Regions from separate parts of the Homo sapiens genome. Here region 2 is linked to region 1. The links are contacts of gene promoters, found by promoter capture Hi-C in blood cells and fetal thymus (Javierre and others, 2016). All regions are on one chromosome and are shown on one strand. Each heading gives the region's core, a stretch centred on a gene start or on the middle of the fragment in contact. The rest is flanking DNA. Distances are from core to core; before and after follow the strand shown. Region 1 holds the start of IGFLR1 (IGF like family receptor 1). Region 2 holds the start of YIF1B (Yip1 interacting factor homolog B, membrane trafficking protein).

Evidence for each region. The method cuts DNA at HindIII sites, captures the fragments that hold promoters and counts their contacts. A CHiCAGO score of 5 or more calls a contact.
Region 2: a contact is called between the fragment with the promoter of YIF1B here and the fragment with the promoter of IGFLR1 in region 1, in 1 of 17 cell types (fetal thymus). The highest score is 7.2, in fetal thymus.

Annotation. Positions count from the first base shown.
Region 1 is chr19:35,740,424-35,745,091 of GRCh38, forward strand. It overlaps IGFLR1 (IGF like family receptor 1), which reads right to left and starts at 2,029. Exons shown (of 5, transcript NM_024660.4): 1 at 1,973-2,029; 2 at 601-800; 3 at 1-141. The coding sequence starts at 757. It overlaps U2AF1L4 (U2 small nuclear RNA auxiliary factor 1 like 4), which reads right to left. Exons shown (of 6, transcript NM_001040425.3): 3 at 3,900-3,998; 4 at 3,589-3,722; 5 at 3,386-3,481; 6 at 2,104-2,380. The coding sequence ends at 2,296. RefSeq lists silencers at 115-244, 3,547-3,707 and enhancers at 325-434, 1,782-2,211. The HindIII fragment of the contact is 10,043 bases long and covers 1-4,668 here.
Region 2 is chr19:38,314,360-38,321,349 of GRCh38, forward strand. It overlaps YIF1B (Yip1 interacting factor homolog B, membrane trafficking protein), which reads right to left and starts at 1,588. Exons shown (of 8, transcript NM_001039672.3): 1 at 1,501-1,588. The coding sequence starts at 1,558. KCNK6 (potassium two pore domain channel subfamily K member 6) reads left to right here and starts at 5,486. Exons shown (of 3, transcript NM_004823.3): 1 at 5,486-5,913. The coding sequence starts at 5,592. RefSeq lists silencers at 1,423-1,912, 5,579-5,668 and an enhancer at 5,314-5,937. The HindIII fragment of the contact is 4,086 bases long and covers 928-5,013 here.

The sequences.
Region 1 (4,668 bases), core at 779-3,278:
TAGGGGTCACGGCTCCGCCGCCGCAGGGGCTACATAGCTCCGCGCCGTCGGGGTTGCACTGCCCAGAAGAACACTTTCGGAACGGGGGCGTTACGAAATCGCCGTGGTCATTGAGTCCGCAGTTTTCCCGGAACTCATAGTCTAGCGGGAAAGCTGCGCTCCAGTGCGGCCGCCTAGCCCGCCCCTGCGCGGGCAACGCCCTCTCCCTTCGCCCTATCCCAGCGTGCCCCGCCCCTCCAGGACGCTTCCAGCCTATTAGCGTGCGCCCCGGTCTTGTCACTTTTCTCCGGGCTCGCCTTTTCACCCCCCTCCAGCCTGCTCCGCACGAAGCTCCGCCCACTCCCGGCTTCTCTACATAAAGCCCACCCTTTCCACGCGGCCCCTATCCCGCCTCTCCAGCCATATCCATTCGCTGTTGCCCTACGGTAGCCCGCACTATCTGCACAGGCTCTGCCTGCCATCCCTGTCTGATCTGCATAAGGCCCACCGCTTAGACCCCTAAGCAAGCCTCTCTGGCCCGTAGCCCACAGACCTCGCCCCTTCCCCGCTCCCTATCACCTGCAAGCTCCGCCCAAGCAAGGCTCGGTCTCGGATTCTCACCCGGGCAGGGGGGCGGCCCGAAGCGTTGCAGGCAGCTGCTGCAGCACTTGTTGTCTGGGTTCCAGTATTCAAGGCGGCCGCAGTACTGGGAGGCTTCCGGCGGTGGCGCCAGGGCCAGAAGCAACAAGGCCGTCAGGAGGCATCGTCCAGGCCCCATCTGGGGGGCCGTGATAGCGGGACTTCCAAACACAGCGCCTCTGCTACACTTTCCGGGGAAATCGGGCAGAAGAAAGGACGCGGTGATGTGGGGGAACAGAATTCTCACGCCTCTTCGGAAGCCGGGAATCTACCCCCGAGCCCTCATCCCCCAACTGAGCCGGTTATCAGAGAAGCCCACAAGGCCACTAGGGGACTAACAGGGCTGCGGATCTAGATTGCAAGAATGCATATCCCACCTCTGCCGTGTCCTCACCCACCCACCCTCCCTTTTCCATCCCTAAAATAAGACAATGATAGCACCTGTCTCATAGGGTTATTGTGGAGAATTAGAACCGTCATTAGAAGTAAAGCAGGGGCTGGGTGTGGTGGCTCATGCCTGTAATCCCAACACTTTGGGAGGCCAAGACAGGAGGATCACTTGAGCCCAGGAGTTCGAGAGATCAGCCTGGACAACAAAATGAAACCCCATCTTTACAAAAAAAAAAAAAAAAAAAAAAAACAGCAAAGCACTTTGCCAAGTGCAGTGGCTCACGTCTGTAGTCCCTGCTACTAGGGAGGCCAAGGTAGGAGGATTGCTTGAGCCATGAATTACAGACCAGCCTGGGCAACACAGCAAGACCTCATCTCTAAAAACAAAAAAAACTGGCCGCCGGGCGCAGTGGCTCATGCCTGTAATCCCAACACTTTGGGAGGCCCAGGTGGGTGGATCACCTGAGGTCAGTAGTTCAAAACCAGCCTGGCCTACATGGTGAAACCCTGTCTCTATTAAAAATACAAAATTAGCCGGGCGTGGTAGCGCATGCCTGTAAATCCCAGCTACTTGGGAGGCTGAGGCAGAATTGCTTGAACCTGGGAAGTGGAGGCTGCAGTGAGCTGAGATCGTGCCATTGCACTCCAGCCTGGGCAACAGGAATGAAACTCCTTAAAAAAAACAAAAACAAACTAAAGTGCTGAAAACAGCACCTCACATACAGTAAACTCAGTGTTTAAGTGTAAGGCATTACTAACTCCCATCACAATTCGGCAGGCACGGAGGAGTCAGCCCCATACTGGCTGGAGACCACCTCCCAGCACCTCACCTCACCTTTGAATCCTAATCTCCTTGGGGCTAGGGCTCCTCCCACCTGCCACAACCAGGTCTCTCCCCCTTGAATAAGCCTCAGATGGAGGTGCTAAGGTTTTCAGCACAAAGGTGTCCCCACCCTACCAGTACCGTTAGGGTCCTGGGTCCCAAGCTGGCCGTGCCAAGTTCCTCAGCTGAAGTTGTGGCCAGGACCCAGTCTTGTTTCCCCTTTTCGTCACATGTGTGGGTGGAGGGAAATGCCAAACCACAGCAAAAGCAAGTTGATGCCGAAGTGAAACACGCAGCTTTATTAAGACAGGGGCGGTAGAAGAAGGTCTCCATGCTGAACAGATTACATTATGGAGCCCGGGAGCCTGGGAAGGATGGGGCAGGAGAGTGAAGGGGGCTTTGAGGAGAGGTCCTGCCAGGAACATCTGTCCCTGTTGGGGGTGAAGGGTAAGGGGGCCAGGGCCTCAGAAGCGGCCATGCCAGTGATCAGGGGAACACCGATGGTTCCTCTCTCGGGGATGGTGGCCAGTATGGAACCTCGGGGGTGACCTGGGAATAGGAGCGTTGAGAGTTCTGTTAGAACCCTGAGGAGTGGTGCAGAGATCCTGCAGGCCTGCCTCTCTGCTCTGGGATGAGGCAGGAGGGTGCTGAAATAACTAGAGTTCTAAGACACGACCTCAGTGGCCAGTATCAGGGGAACTCAGTGGCCAGTATCAGGGGTGGCAATCCAGGCTGGTCGTGGATTAGGGGTTCAGGCTGGTTTGGGGATTGGGACTTAGGTACTGGTCTCCAGATGGAGCTCAGAACTACTCTTAGGGTATAAGAGTCTTGGGAATGACCGGGCGCAGTGGTTCACGCCTGTAATCCCCACACTTTGGGAGGCCGAGATGGGTGGATTACCTGAGGTCCGGAGTTCGAGACCAGGCTGGCCAACGTGGTGAAACCCCATCTCTACTAAAAATACAAAAATTAGCCAGGCATGGTGGCAGGTGCCTATAATCCCAGCTACTTGGGAGGCTGAGAAAGGAGAATTGCTTGAACCTGGGAGGCAGAGGTTGCACTGAGCCAAGACTGCGCCTTTGCACTCCAGCCTGCGGAAGAAGAGCAAAACTCCGTCTCAAAAAAAAAAAAAAAAAAAAAAAAAAAAAACAGTCAGCCGGGAGTGGTGGCTCACGCCTGTAATCCCAGCACTTTGGGAGGGTGAGGCAGGTGGATCACGAGGTTAGGAGTTCAGACCAGCCTGGCCAAGATGGTGAAACCCCATCTCTACTAAAAACACAAAAATTAGCCGGGCATGGTGGCAGGTGCCTGTAATCCCAGCTATTTGGGAGGCTGAGGCAGAGAATTGCTTGAACCCGGGAGGCGGAAGTTGCCATGAACCAAGATGGTGCCAATGCACTCCAGCCTGGGCAACAGAGTGAGGCTCCATCTCAAAAAAAAAAAAAAAAAAAAAAGATTCTTGGGAACGTGGTTACTGGGGCTTAGGGTTAGGCTCATCTGAGGATATAGGGGCCTTAGGACATGAGGAGACATAGCAGGCTGGTCCTGAGGTACCTGCGCCTGGGTCCCCGCCCATAGAGCTGCCTCTGGAGGTTCTGGGAAATGGGCCGCAGATGCATGAAGTTGCAGAAGCCACCTCGGGTACATTCCCTGCATAGAGGGTAGAGAGATGGAGGAAGCCATTGTCACTGACAGCCCCTACCACGCATTCAAAGTCTGGGATTCCAAGTGCCCATCCCACCCTTGAACTACCATACCCCATCTCATACTGGCGACAGCATGACTCCCGGAAGTCAGTGACAGGAGACAGCTCACCGTGCACAGCCTGCCCGTTGAACCAGCGGTTACTGAGTTCAGCCACGGCCCGCTCTCCATCCTCCTCCCTCCGGAACTGCAGGAAATGTCAGTCAGGGTCAGCAGGAGAACTCAGAGATCTTCAGGGGACTCACTACCCGCTCTGGGGCTGGACTGGATTTAGTGATGAAATTCAAGCTGAGAGCCTACAGTGGCCACCATCAGGCATTGAAACGCCTCCACTTCTGGGCCCTAAGTGGGGGGCAGCAAGCACCTTGACATAGACGTTGCCCACGAGGTGGTCCCCAAGGTTGTCGCACACATTCATCTCTTCAATCTCCCCATACTTCTCCTGCAGTTCTGTGAACACCTCCTGTGGAAGACGGGGAGGAACTCAGCTGAGCTCCCACAAGAAACCCCATCTGCCCCTACCAACCCTCACCTCGAAGAAGCTATCATAGTGCTCCTGCACCTCCACGTCACTCACATGACCTGGGGTGGGGGCGGGCAGGGTGGAATCAGAGTGTAGCCTACTGGGGGCTGTTCACCTTGCCCCCAGGCCTGGTCCCTTACTCACAGTGTGATCCGTCTGCAGTTTGGGCTGTGTTCTGTGGATTCCGGTACAGGTTGAGCAGCACTATGGTCTGCACAGAATTTAAAAGGGGCGGGGCCTGAGCTCAGAGGGCAGGGCTGCATGAACAGAGAGTGAGGCATGAAGGTTGGGGGTGGAACCTTACACCCCAGCCTAAGCATCATGAGTGCATCGGCGATCCTTTGCCCCTAAGAAACCAGAAAAGGGATGGAGGGGACTGGCAAGGATGAACAGCGGGATGGAAGGGACTGGCAAAGATGAACAGCCGCCGTGTGTAGCCTGTACGCATGGGGGCGCGACCAAGTTCCCGGGAAAACGGCACGAAGACCGGTGGGAGGAGCCTGCAGAAAGGTCCAATGAGAAAAAAAGCCGGGCGGTGGGGAGGGACTCAGGAACCCGGAATAGGCGGGACATGGTGACGACGGCCCCAGAAGGGGAAGGGCCAGGGAGC
Region 2 (6,990 bases), core at 338-2,837, 2.6 Mb after region 1:
AAATTTTCTATTTTTAGTAGAGATGGGGTCTCACCATGTTGGCCAGGCTGGTCTCGAACTCCTGACCTCGTGATCCTCCCACCTCGGCCTCCCAAAATCCTGGGATTATAGGTGTGAACCACTGCGCCCAACCTAATTTTTTTGCATTTTTAGTAGAGATGGGGTTTCATCATGTTGGCCAGGCTGGTTGGCTGGGCACCGTGACTCATGCCTGTGATCCCAGCACTTTGGGAGGCCAAGGCAGGTGGATCACCCTCTTTTTTTTTTTTTTTTTTTTTTTTTGAGGCGAAGTCTTGCTCTGTCGCCCAGGCTGGTGCAATCTCGCCTCAGTGCAACCTCTGCCTCCTGGGTTCAAGTGATTCTCAAGCCTCAGACTCCCAAGTAGCCGGGATTACAGGTGCTCGCCACCACACCCGGCTAATTTTGTGTACTTTTATTAGAGATAGGATTTTGCTGTTACCCAAGCTGGTCTCCAACTCCTGGCCCCAAGTGATTCGCCCACCTCGACCTCCCAAAGTGCTGAGATTATAGGTGTAGGCCAGCACGCCCAGCCTGCCCTCTCACTACAAATCTCCTTCTCCTGGGTAACTTTTCATGATCAGAATTATCCTCTTCCATGCCGGGTGCGGTGGCTCACGCCTGTAATCCCAGCACTTTGGGAGGCCTAGGCGGGCGGATCACCTGAGGTCGGGAGTTTGAGACCAGCTTGACCAACATGGAGAAACCCCGTCTATACCACCCCGGGCGTGGTGGCCTGCGCCTGTAATCCCAGCTACTTGGGAGGCTGAGGCAGGAGAATCGCTTGAACCCGGGAGGCGGAGGTTGCGGTGACCTGAGATCGCGCCATTGCACTCCAGCCTTGGCAACAAGAACAAAACTAGGTCTCAAAAAAAAAAAAAAAAGAAAAAGAAGTATCCTCTTCCAGGAAGCTTCACTGACACCCCTAGGCTGGGTCATGTGCCTCCTCAGGGCTCCCACAACATCTCCATCCCAACACAGGGCCTGACACATGGGAGTTGAGACAAGTTAGGTTGAATGAATAAATGAAACACACAGCACACTCACGGAGATGAAGAGACAGGAAAAGGGGGCCAACAGCACAATACAGGTTCGCTTCTTAAATGAGCGGTAGGCATGGCCCTCTGCGCTCCCGGGGGGCCACGAAGCTGTCCTAAGGGTGTGGGCGACAGCAGGCGGGTACTGGGGAGCCACGGAAGGGTGGGGAGCAGGGAAGGGCGGATCGCTAACTGCAAATGAATGAAAGTTGCATTTCTCTGCATATCGCACGCTATCCAGTCCCAAGTTGTTTTCTTCTAAAGGAATTTCCTAAAGAATCGCCCCCCAAGGGGCCTCCTACCCGAACCTGGCATCCCAGCGCTGTGCACACCTCAGGGTTCCAGATCCTTGATCTCGTGACCTCTGACCTGCAGTGACCTCGCCAACCGACGCGGCCGCCCCGCCACGCCCCCGCCCGCCCGATCTCCTCCGCCGGCCACGTACGCCACTTACGCAGCCGGGGCGTCCCCGCAGCCGCCGCCGCCAAGCCTGCCGGGTGCATCCTTCGCCGCCGCCACCTAAGCCGCGGTTCGGAGCGTGCCCGCCCGGCTCCCGTACCCACGCCCCGCCGGCGAAGAGACAGCCAATGGACGTCAGGATTGAGGGAAGGCCTCGCCCCCACCCCCCCGACCCCTCCAGCCCCCCCCTTCACGGAGGCCTGGACGACTGGGCGGTGCCTTACGTAAGAGGCGGAGACTGGGCTACTGGGCTCATGCAGTAAAGCGAGTCAAGGCCTGAGTGGCAGGAGGGCGAGGCCGGGACCAATCCCAGGAGGAGGCGGTGTCTGCCACGACAGAAAATGAGTGTCTGCCCCTTGCCGGGGCTCACGCCCCTAACTCCAGCACTTTGGGAGGCCGAGGCGGGAGGATTGCTTCAGCCCAGGGATTCGAGACTAGCCTGAGCAACATAGTGACCCTCGCCCCGCCCCATCCCTACAATTTTTTTTTTTTTTAATTTAGCCAGGCTCAGTGGCTTAACGCCTGTAATCTCAGCACTTTGGAAGGCTGAGGATCGCTTGAGCCCAGGAGTTCGAGACCAGCCTGGGCAACAGCGAGATCTCCATCGCTACAAAACATTTTTTAAAATGTAAATATCGAGCGAAAAGGTCGATGGGAAATGCAGTTCTCTGCAGACAGCCGTTCAGTTTGGGTCATTGAGAGCACTGGAGAGCCAGAAAAGGCTGTGGAGCAAGGAAAAGAGAAACATTTGTGTTCCTGAGGGGCTAATTGGAGTTGTAGGGGCTTATACAATTTTTGACATCCCTTAGGTATTAAAGTAAATATTTATTTATTTTGAGACAGGGTCTTCCTCTGTTTTCCAGGCTGCCTCGGACCCCCTGAGCTCAAGTGATCCTCCTGCCTCAGCCTCCCCAGTAACTGGCACCACAGGCATGCACCACCATGCCCAGCTAATTTTTAAATTTTTTGTCAAAACAGGATCTTGCTATGTTGCCCAGGCTGGTCTCGAATTCCTGGGCTCAAGCCATCCTCCTGCTTCAGCCTCCTAAAGCATTAGGATTACAGACATGAGCCACAGTGCCCGGCCTTAAAGTGAATATTTAGAGTGAGAAAAGGAAACCCAACAAGTTAGGTGAGAAGAACCAGGTGTCTCTCTTGGAATAGATCTTAAGGCAGTTTCCCAGAAATTCATAAAAATGTTCTCACATTGCAACCTGGTTCCCTCTGTCCACCAAAAGCATTCTACAACCCCCAGCAACTCACAGCACACAGGCGCACCTGCAAGTGAAGAGCCCTGCCCACCTAGCGTCCTTAGTCTCTCCTCTCTCTGACTCTCAGTCTCCCCCCTTCTCTCCCTCTCAGACTCCCCGACTTATCTCAGGAAAACATAGTGGTGGAAGTTACTTCTGCGCAGCGATAGCGCATCCGGAAGGATGTCAGCAAGTGACCCTATCGCTGTGGCTTCCTCTTCCTCCTCTGAGACGTTGTCTTTTTGGAGACCTTAAGGGCTGCTCCTGGTTTCTCAGTGATGAGTGCTGGCTCCACTGTGGTTCCTTTTTGTGAGCGAAATGCCCGCATTCTTCTTCACCTCTGATTTAGCCTCTGTCCCCTGGGCTCCAACACCATTTTCTCCTCATCCTCAGCCCTCTCTTGCTCTGGTTGCTCCAGATACATCTCTTCCATAAATGTTTTTTTTTTTCTTATTGCTTTTTTGTTTGTTTTTTGAGATGGAGTCTTGCTCTGTCGCCCAGGCTGGAGTGCAGTGATGCGATCTCGGCTCACTGCAACCTTTGCCTCCTGGGTTCAAGTGATTCTCCTGCTTCAGCCTCCCGATAGCTGAGATTACAGGCGTGTGCCATCGCACCTGGCTAATTTTTTGTATTTTTAGTAGAGACAGGGTTTCGCCATGTTGGCCAGGCTGGTCTCGAACTCCTGACCTCAGGTGATCCACCTGCCTTGGCCTCCCAAAGCACTGAGATTACAGGCATGAAACACCGCACCCAGCCTTATGTATATATATTTAATTAATAAAGCAAGTACTGCCAAGTGCAGCGGATCACGCCTGTAATCCCAGCACTTTGGGAGGCCAAGGCGGGCAGATCACCTGAGGTCAGTTTGAGACCATCCTTGCCAACATGGCGAAACCCTGTCTCTACTTAAAATACAAAAATTAGCTGGGTGTTGTGGCGGGCATCTATAATTCCAGCTACTTAGGAGGCTGAGGCAGGAGAATTGCTTGAACCCAGGAGGCAGAGGTTGCAGCGAGCCGAGATTGTGCCATTGCACTCCAGCCTGGGAGACAGAGCGAGACTCTTGTCTCAAAAAAAAAAAAAAAAAAAAAAAAAAAGCAAGTTCATTAGTTCATTGGCTTCCTGCTGGCCTCATGTTCACCCCTTACCAGTTGTGTGACTACTACTTTTTATTTTTTTGAGGCAGGGTCTACTCTATCACCCATACTGGAGTGCAGTGGTGCGACCATAACTCATTGCAGTCTCTAATTCCTGAGCTCAAACGATCCTCCTGCCTCAGCCTCCCGAGTAGCTGGGACTACAGACGCATGCCACCACACTTGGCTAATTTTTGTATTTTTTGTCGAGATGGGGTTTTGCCATGTTGCCCGAGCTGGTCTCAAATGACTACTTCATTTTTAAGCCTAAATTTTCTCATCTGTTTAGTGGGAATTATATTGGGACGGGGTTGAGAATTCAGTGCAAGTTCAGGTGTCCACAGGGCCTGGCAGAATGTAAGCCTTCGATCACTGGCACCTATTGTGTTACTGATTCTATTATCAGGTGCCTCTGCTTCTGGATTGTCAACCCCAAGTTGGGCTCTGCCCGGTGATCTGCCAGCTCTTTAATAGAACCAGCTGGGACATGTCTGAGCTGAGCCCCAAGCCCCACTCCTCTGCCAGTCGGATGGGGTTAGGACTCTGGGCTGCCCTCCAAAAGGCTGTCAGGAAGGCGCTGAGTTCTGGCTGGAGGCAGAAGTGGAGAGACTTACGGGGGGGCGCAGAAAGAAAAATTTCCTCTTAAATAGAGGCGTGTATTTGTGATTCTGCCTGGCTTGTTTCCATTCATCCTTCATGCTTCAGCTCAGCTAGCCCCTTCCTCAGGAAGCTCTCTTGACCTCCCTAGGCAGGGGTGGTTGCTTCCTCTGGACTCCCAGGGCCCTCTAGGGCTCCCTGATTCCAGGCTTGATCATTGTACCCTTGCTTCCCTCATCACAGCCCTGACCACTCTGGGCTGTCTTTTTTCTTTTTTTTAGAGATAGGGTCTCACTCTCTCCCAGGCATAGCTCACTGCAGCCTCGAACTCCTGGGCTCAAGCAATCCTCCGACCTCAGCCTCCCGAGTAGCTGGGACAACAGGCGTGGGTCACTCTTGTGTCAGTCTCCCAGTTAGACTGGGAGCCCCATGAATGCATGGCGCAGGATGGTCTCATCATTACTGAGTCTCCAGGATCATCCAGCGAGGGGTCAGCAGAAAGTGGGCATTGAACAAAGCTTTGGTGAGTAGCTGAGGATCCCCACTCTGTCCACACGGGCACAGGGGACACCTGACTCTGTGGTGTCCGCTGTTCCCACTCCGAGGCTCACAACTTGGCGAATGGAGCGAGAATTGGATTTCAGTTTGCCCCTTGCTCCGTCAGCCGCGCGCCCTGATGCAGTGCACAACCTTAGCTGCTGTGCGCGATGGGGGGCGACTCCTCGGCCTGCGAGCAGAGAGGAAAGTTCAGATTCTTCTAACATAGAGAACCAGCCTTCCAGGAGGACGAGAAGGAAGGAATGAGGGGAAGAGAGGACTACCTCCACCCTTTCCATCCCGTTGGTCTGCTGGGTCTGGGAGCACTGGGCTCCACCCTCTCCGAACGAACACCTGGCGGTTGGGCGTGCCTCAGTTTCCCGGAGGCGGGGCATTCCTCCGTCGCCGCCCCCCACCTCCCCTTTTTCCTCTTCCTCTTGGGGCATCTGCTGCCGCGCCTGTAGCACTCCCGGAACTGGAACTAGGTGCCAGACGGTCCGGAGGCGGGGGCCACGTCAGCGGGGCCACCCAGGGCTCGCGGGGTCCCGGTGGGTGCCATGCGGAGGGGCGCGCTTCTGGCGGGCGCCTTGGCCGCGTACGCCGCGTACCTGGTGCTGGGCGCGCTGTTGGTGGCGCGGCTGGAGGGGCCGCACGAAGCCAGGCTCCGAGCCGAGCTGGAGACGCTGCGGGCGCAGCTGCTTCAGCGCAGCCCGTGTGTGGCTGCCCCCGCCCTGGACGCCTTCGTGGAGCGAGTGCTGGCGGCCGGACGGCTGGGGCGGGTCGTGCTTGCTAACGCTTCGGGGTCCGCCAACGCCTCGGACCCCGCCTGGGACTTCGCCTCTGCTCTCTTCTTCGCCAGCACGCTGATCACCACCGTGGGTACGTAAGCGCCTCACCGCAAGGCGGCGAGGACCCGGGATCCCCACTTCATCCTTAACCCCTGGGGACCCCGGGGCCCTCACGAATACCCTTATCCCAATCCCCTCTGGGCTTCGGATCCCCCGAAAAGACCCCAGTGAGGACCCGGGACCCAGGCTCATGATATCTGCTCTGCTCGGGGAGCCCAAGTCCGAGCCCTTCCTCCTAAGTAGGAAACACCCAGCTCCCCTCAGAGTACCTTTGCAGAGACCAGCTGGGACCCCGTTCCTCGGTCTTTTTTTTTTTTCTTTTCTTTTTCTTTTTTTGAGACAGGGCTTACTCTGTCGCCCAGGCTGGAGTGCAGTGGCACGATCTCGGATCACGGCAGCCTCCGCCTCCCGGTTTCAAGCTATTCTCCTGCTTCAGCCTGCCGAGTAGCTGGGATTACAGGCACATACCACCATGCCTGGCTAATTTTTGTATTTTCAGTGGAGACGGAGTTTCACCATGTTGGCCAGGCTGGTCCCAAACTCCTGACTTCAGGTGATCAGCCCGCCTCGCCCTCCCAAATTGCTGGCATTACAGGCTTGAGCCACTGCACTGGGACTGCATTCCCCGGTCTTAATCCTCTTGGTGACCCGGGTCTGTCCAGCCCCCTCTAAGCCTAGGACTGTCCTCAGAGACCTCCAGCAAGGACCCAGGACACGCCACCCTCCAAGGGAGATCCTTGCCCCCTCTGGACCCAGAACTCAACCATGCCAGGACCCCTGACTTTATCTCTAGTCTGGGCCTGCCACCCTTGCCATGTCTCCTGACCCTCCAGATATGTCCTTCTGGGAAACCCCCCTGGAGAAACCCCATCTCAACCTCCTCCTGACCCTGGCGCCTTAGCGAGGACCCTAAATCTCCAGACCTCTCAGGGTGTCCTCACTAAAGACCTCCCTCCCAACAGAGATTCCTCAGCAAGGACCTGGCACCGCCATCTGGGACTCCTGGCCCTCTGGACCTGGGCCTCTGCTCCAGACTGTCATCTGTCTCCTGGCCCCATACTCCCCAGCAGGCAACTCTGACCCCAGACACAAAACCCTTCCCTAGGTA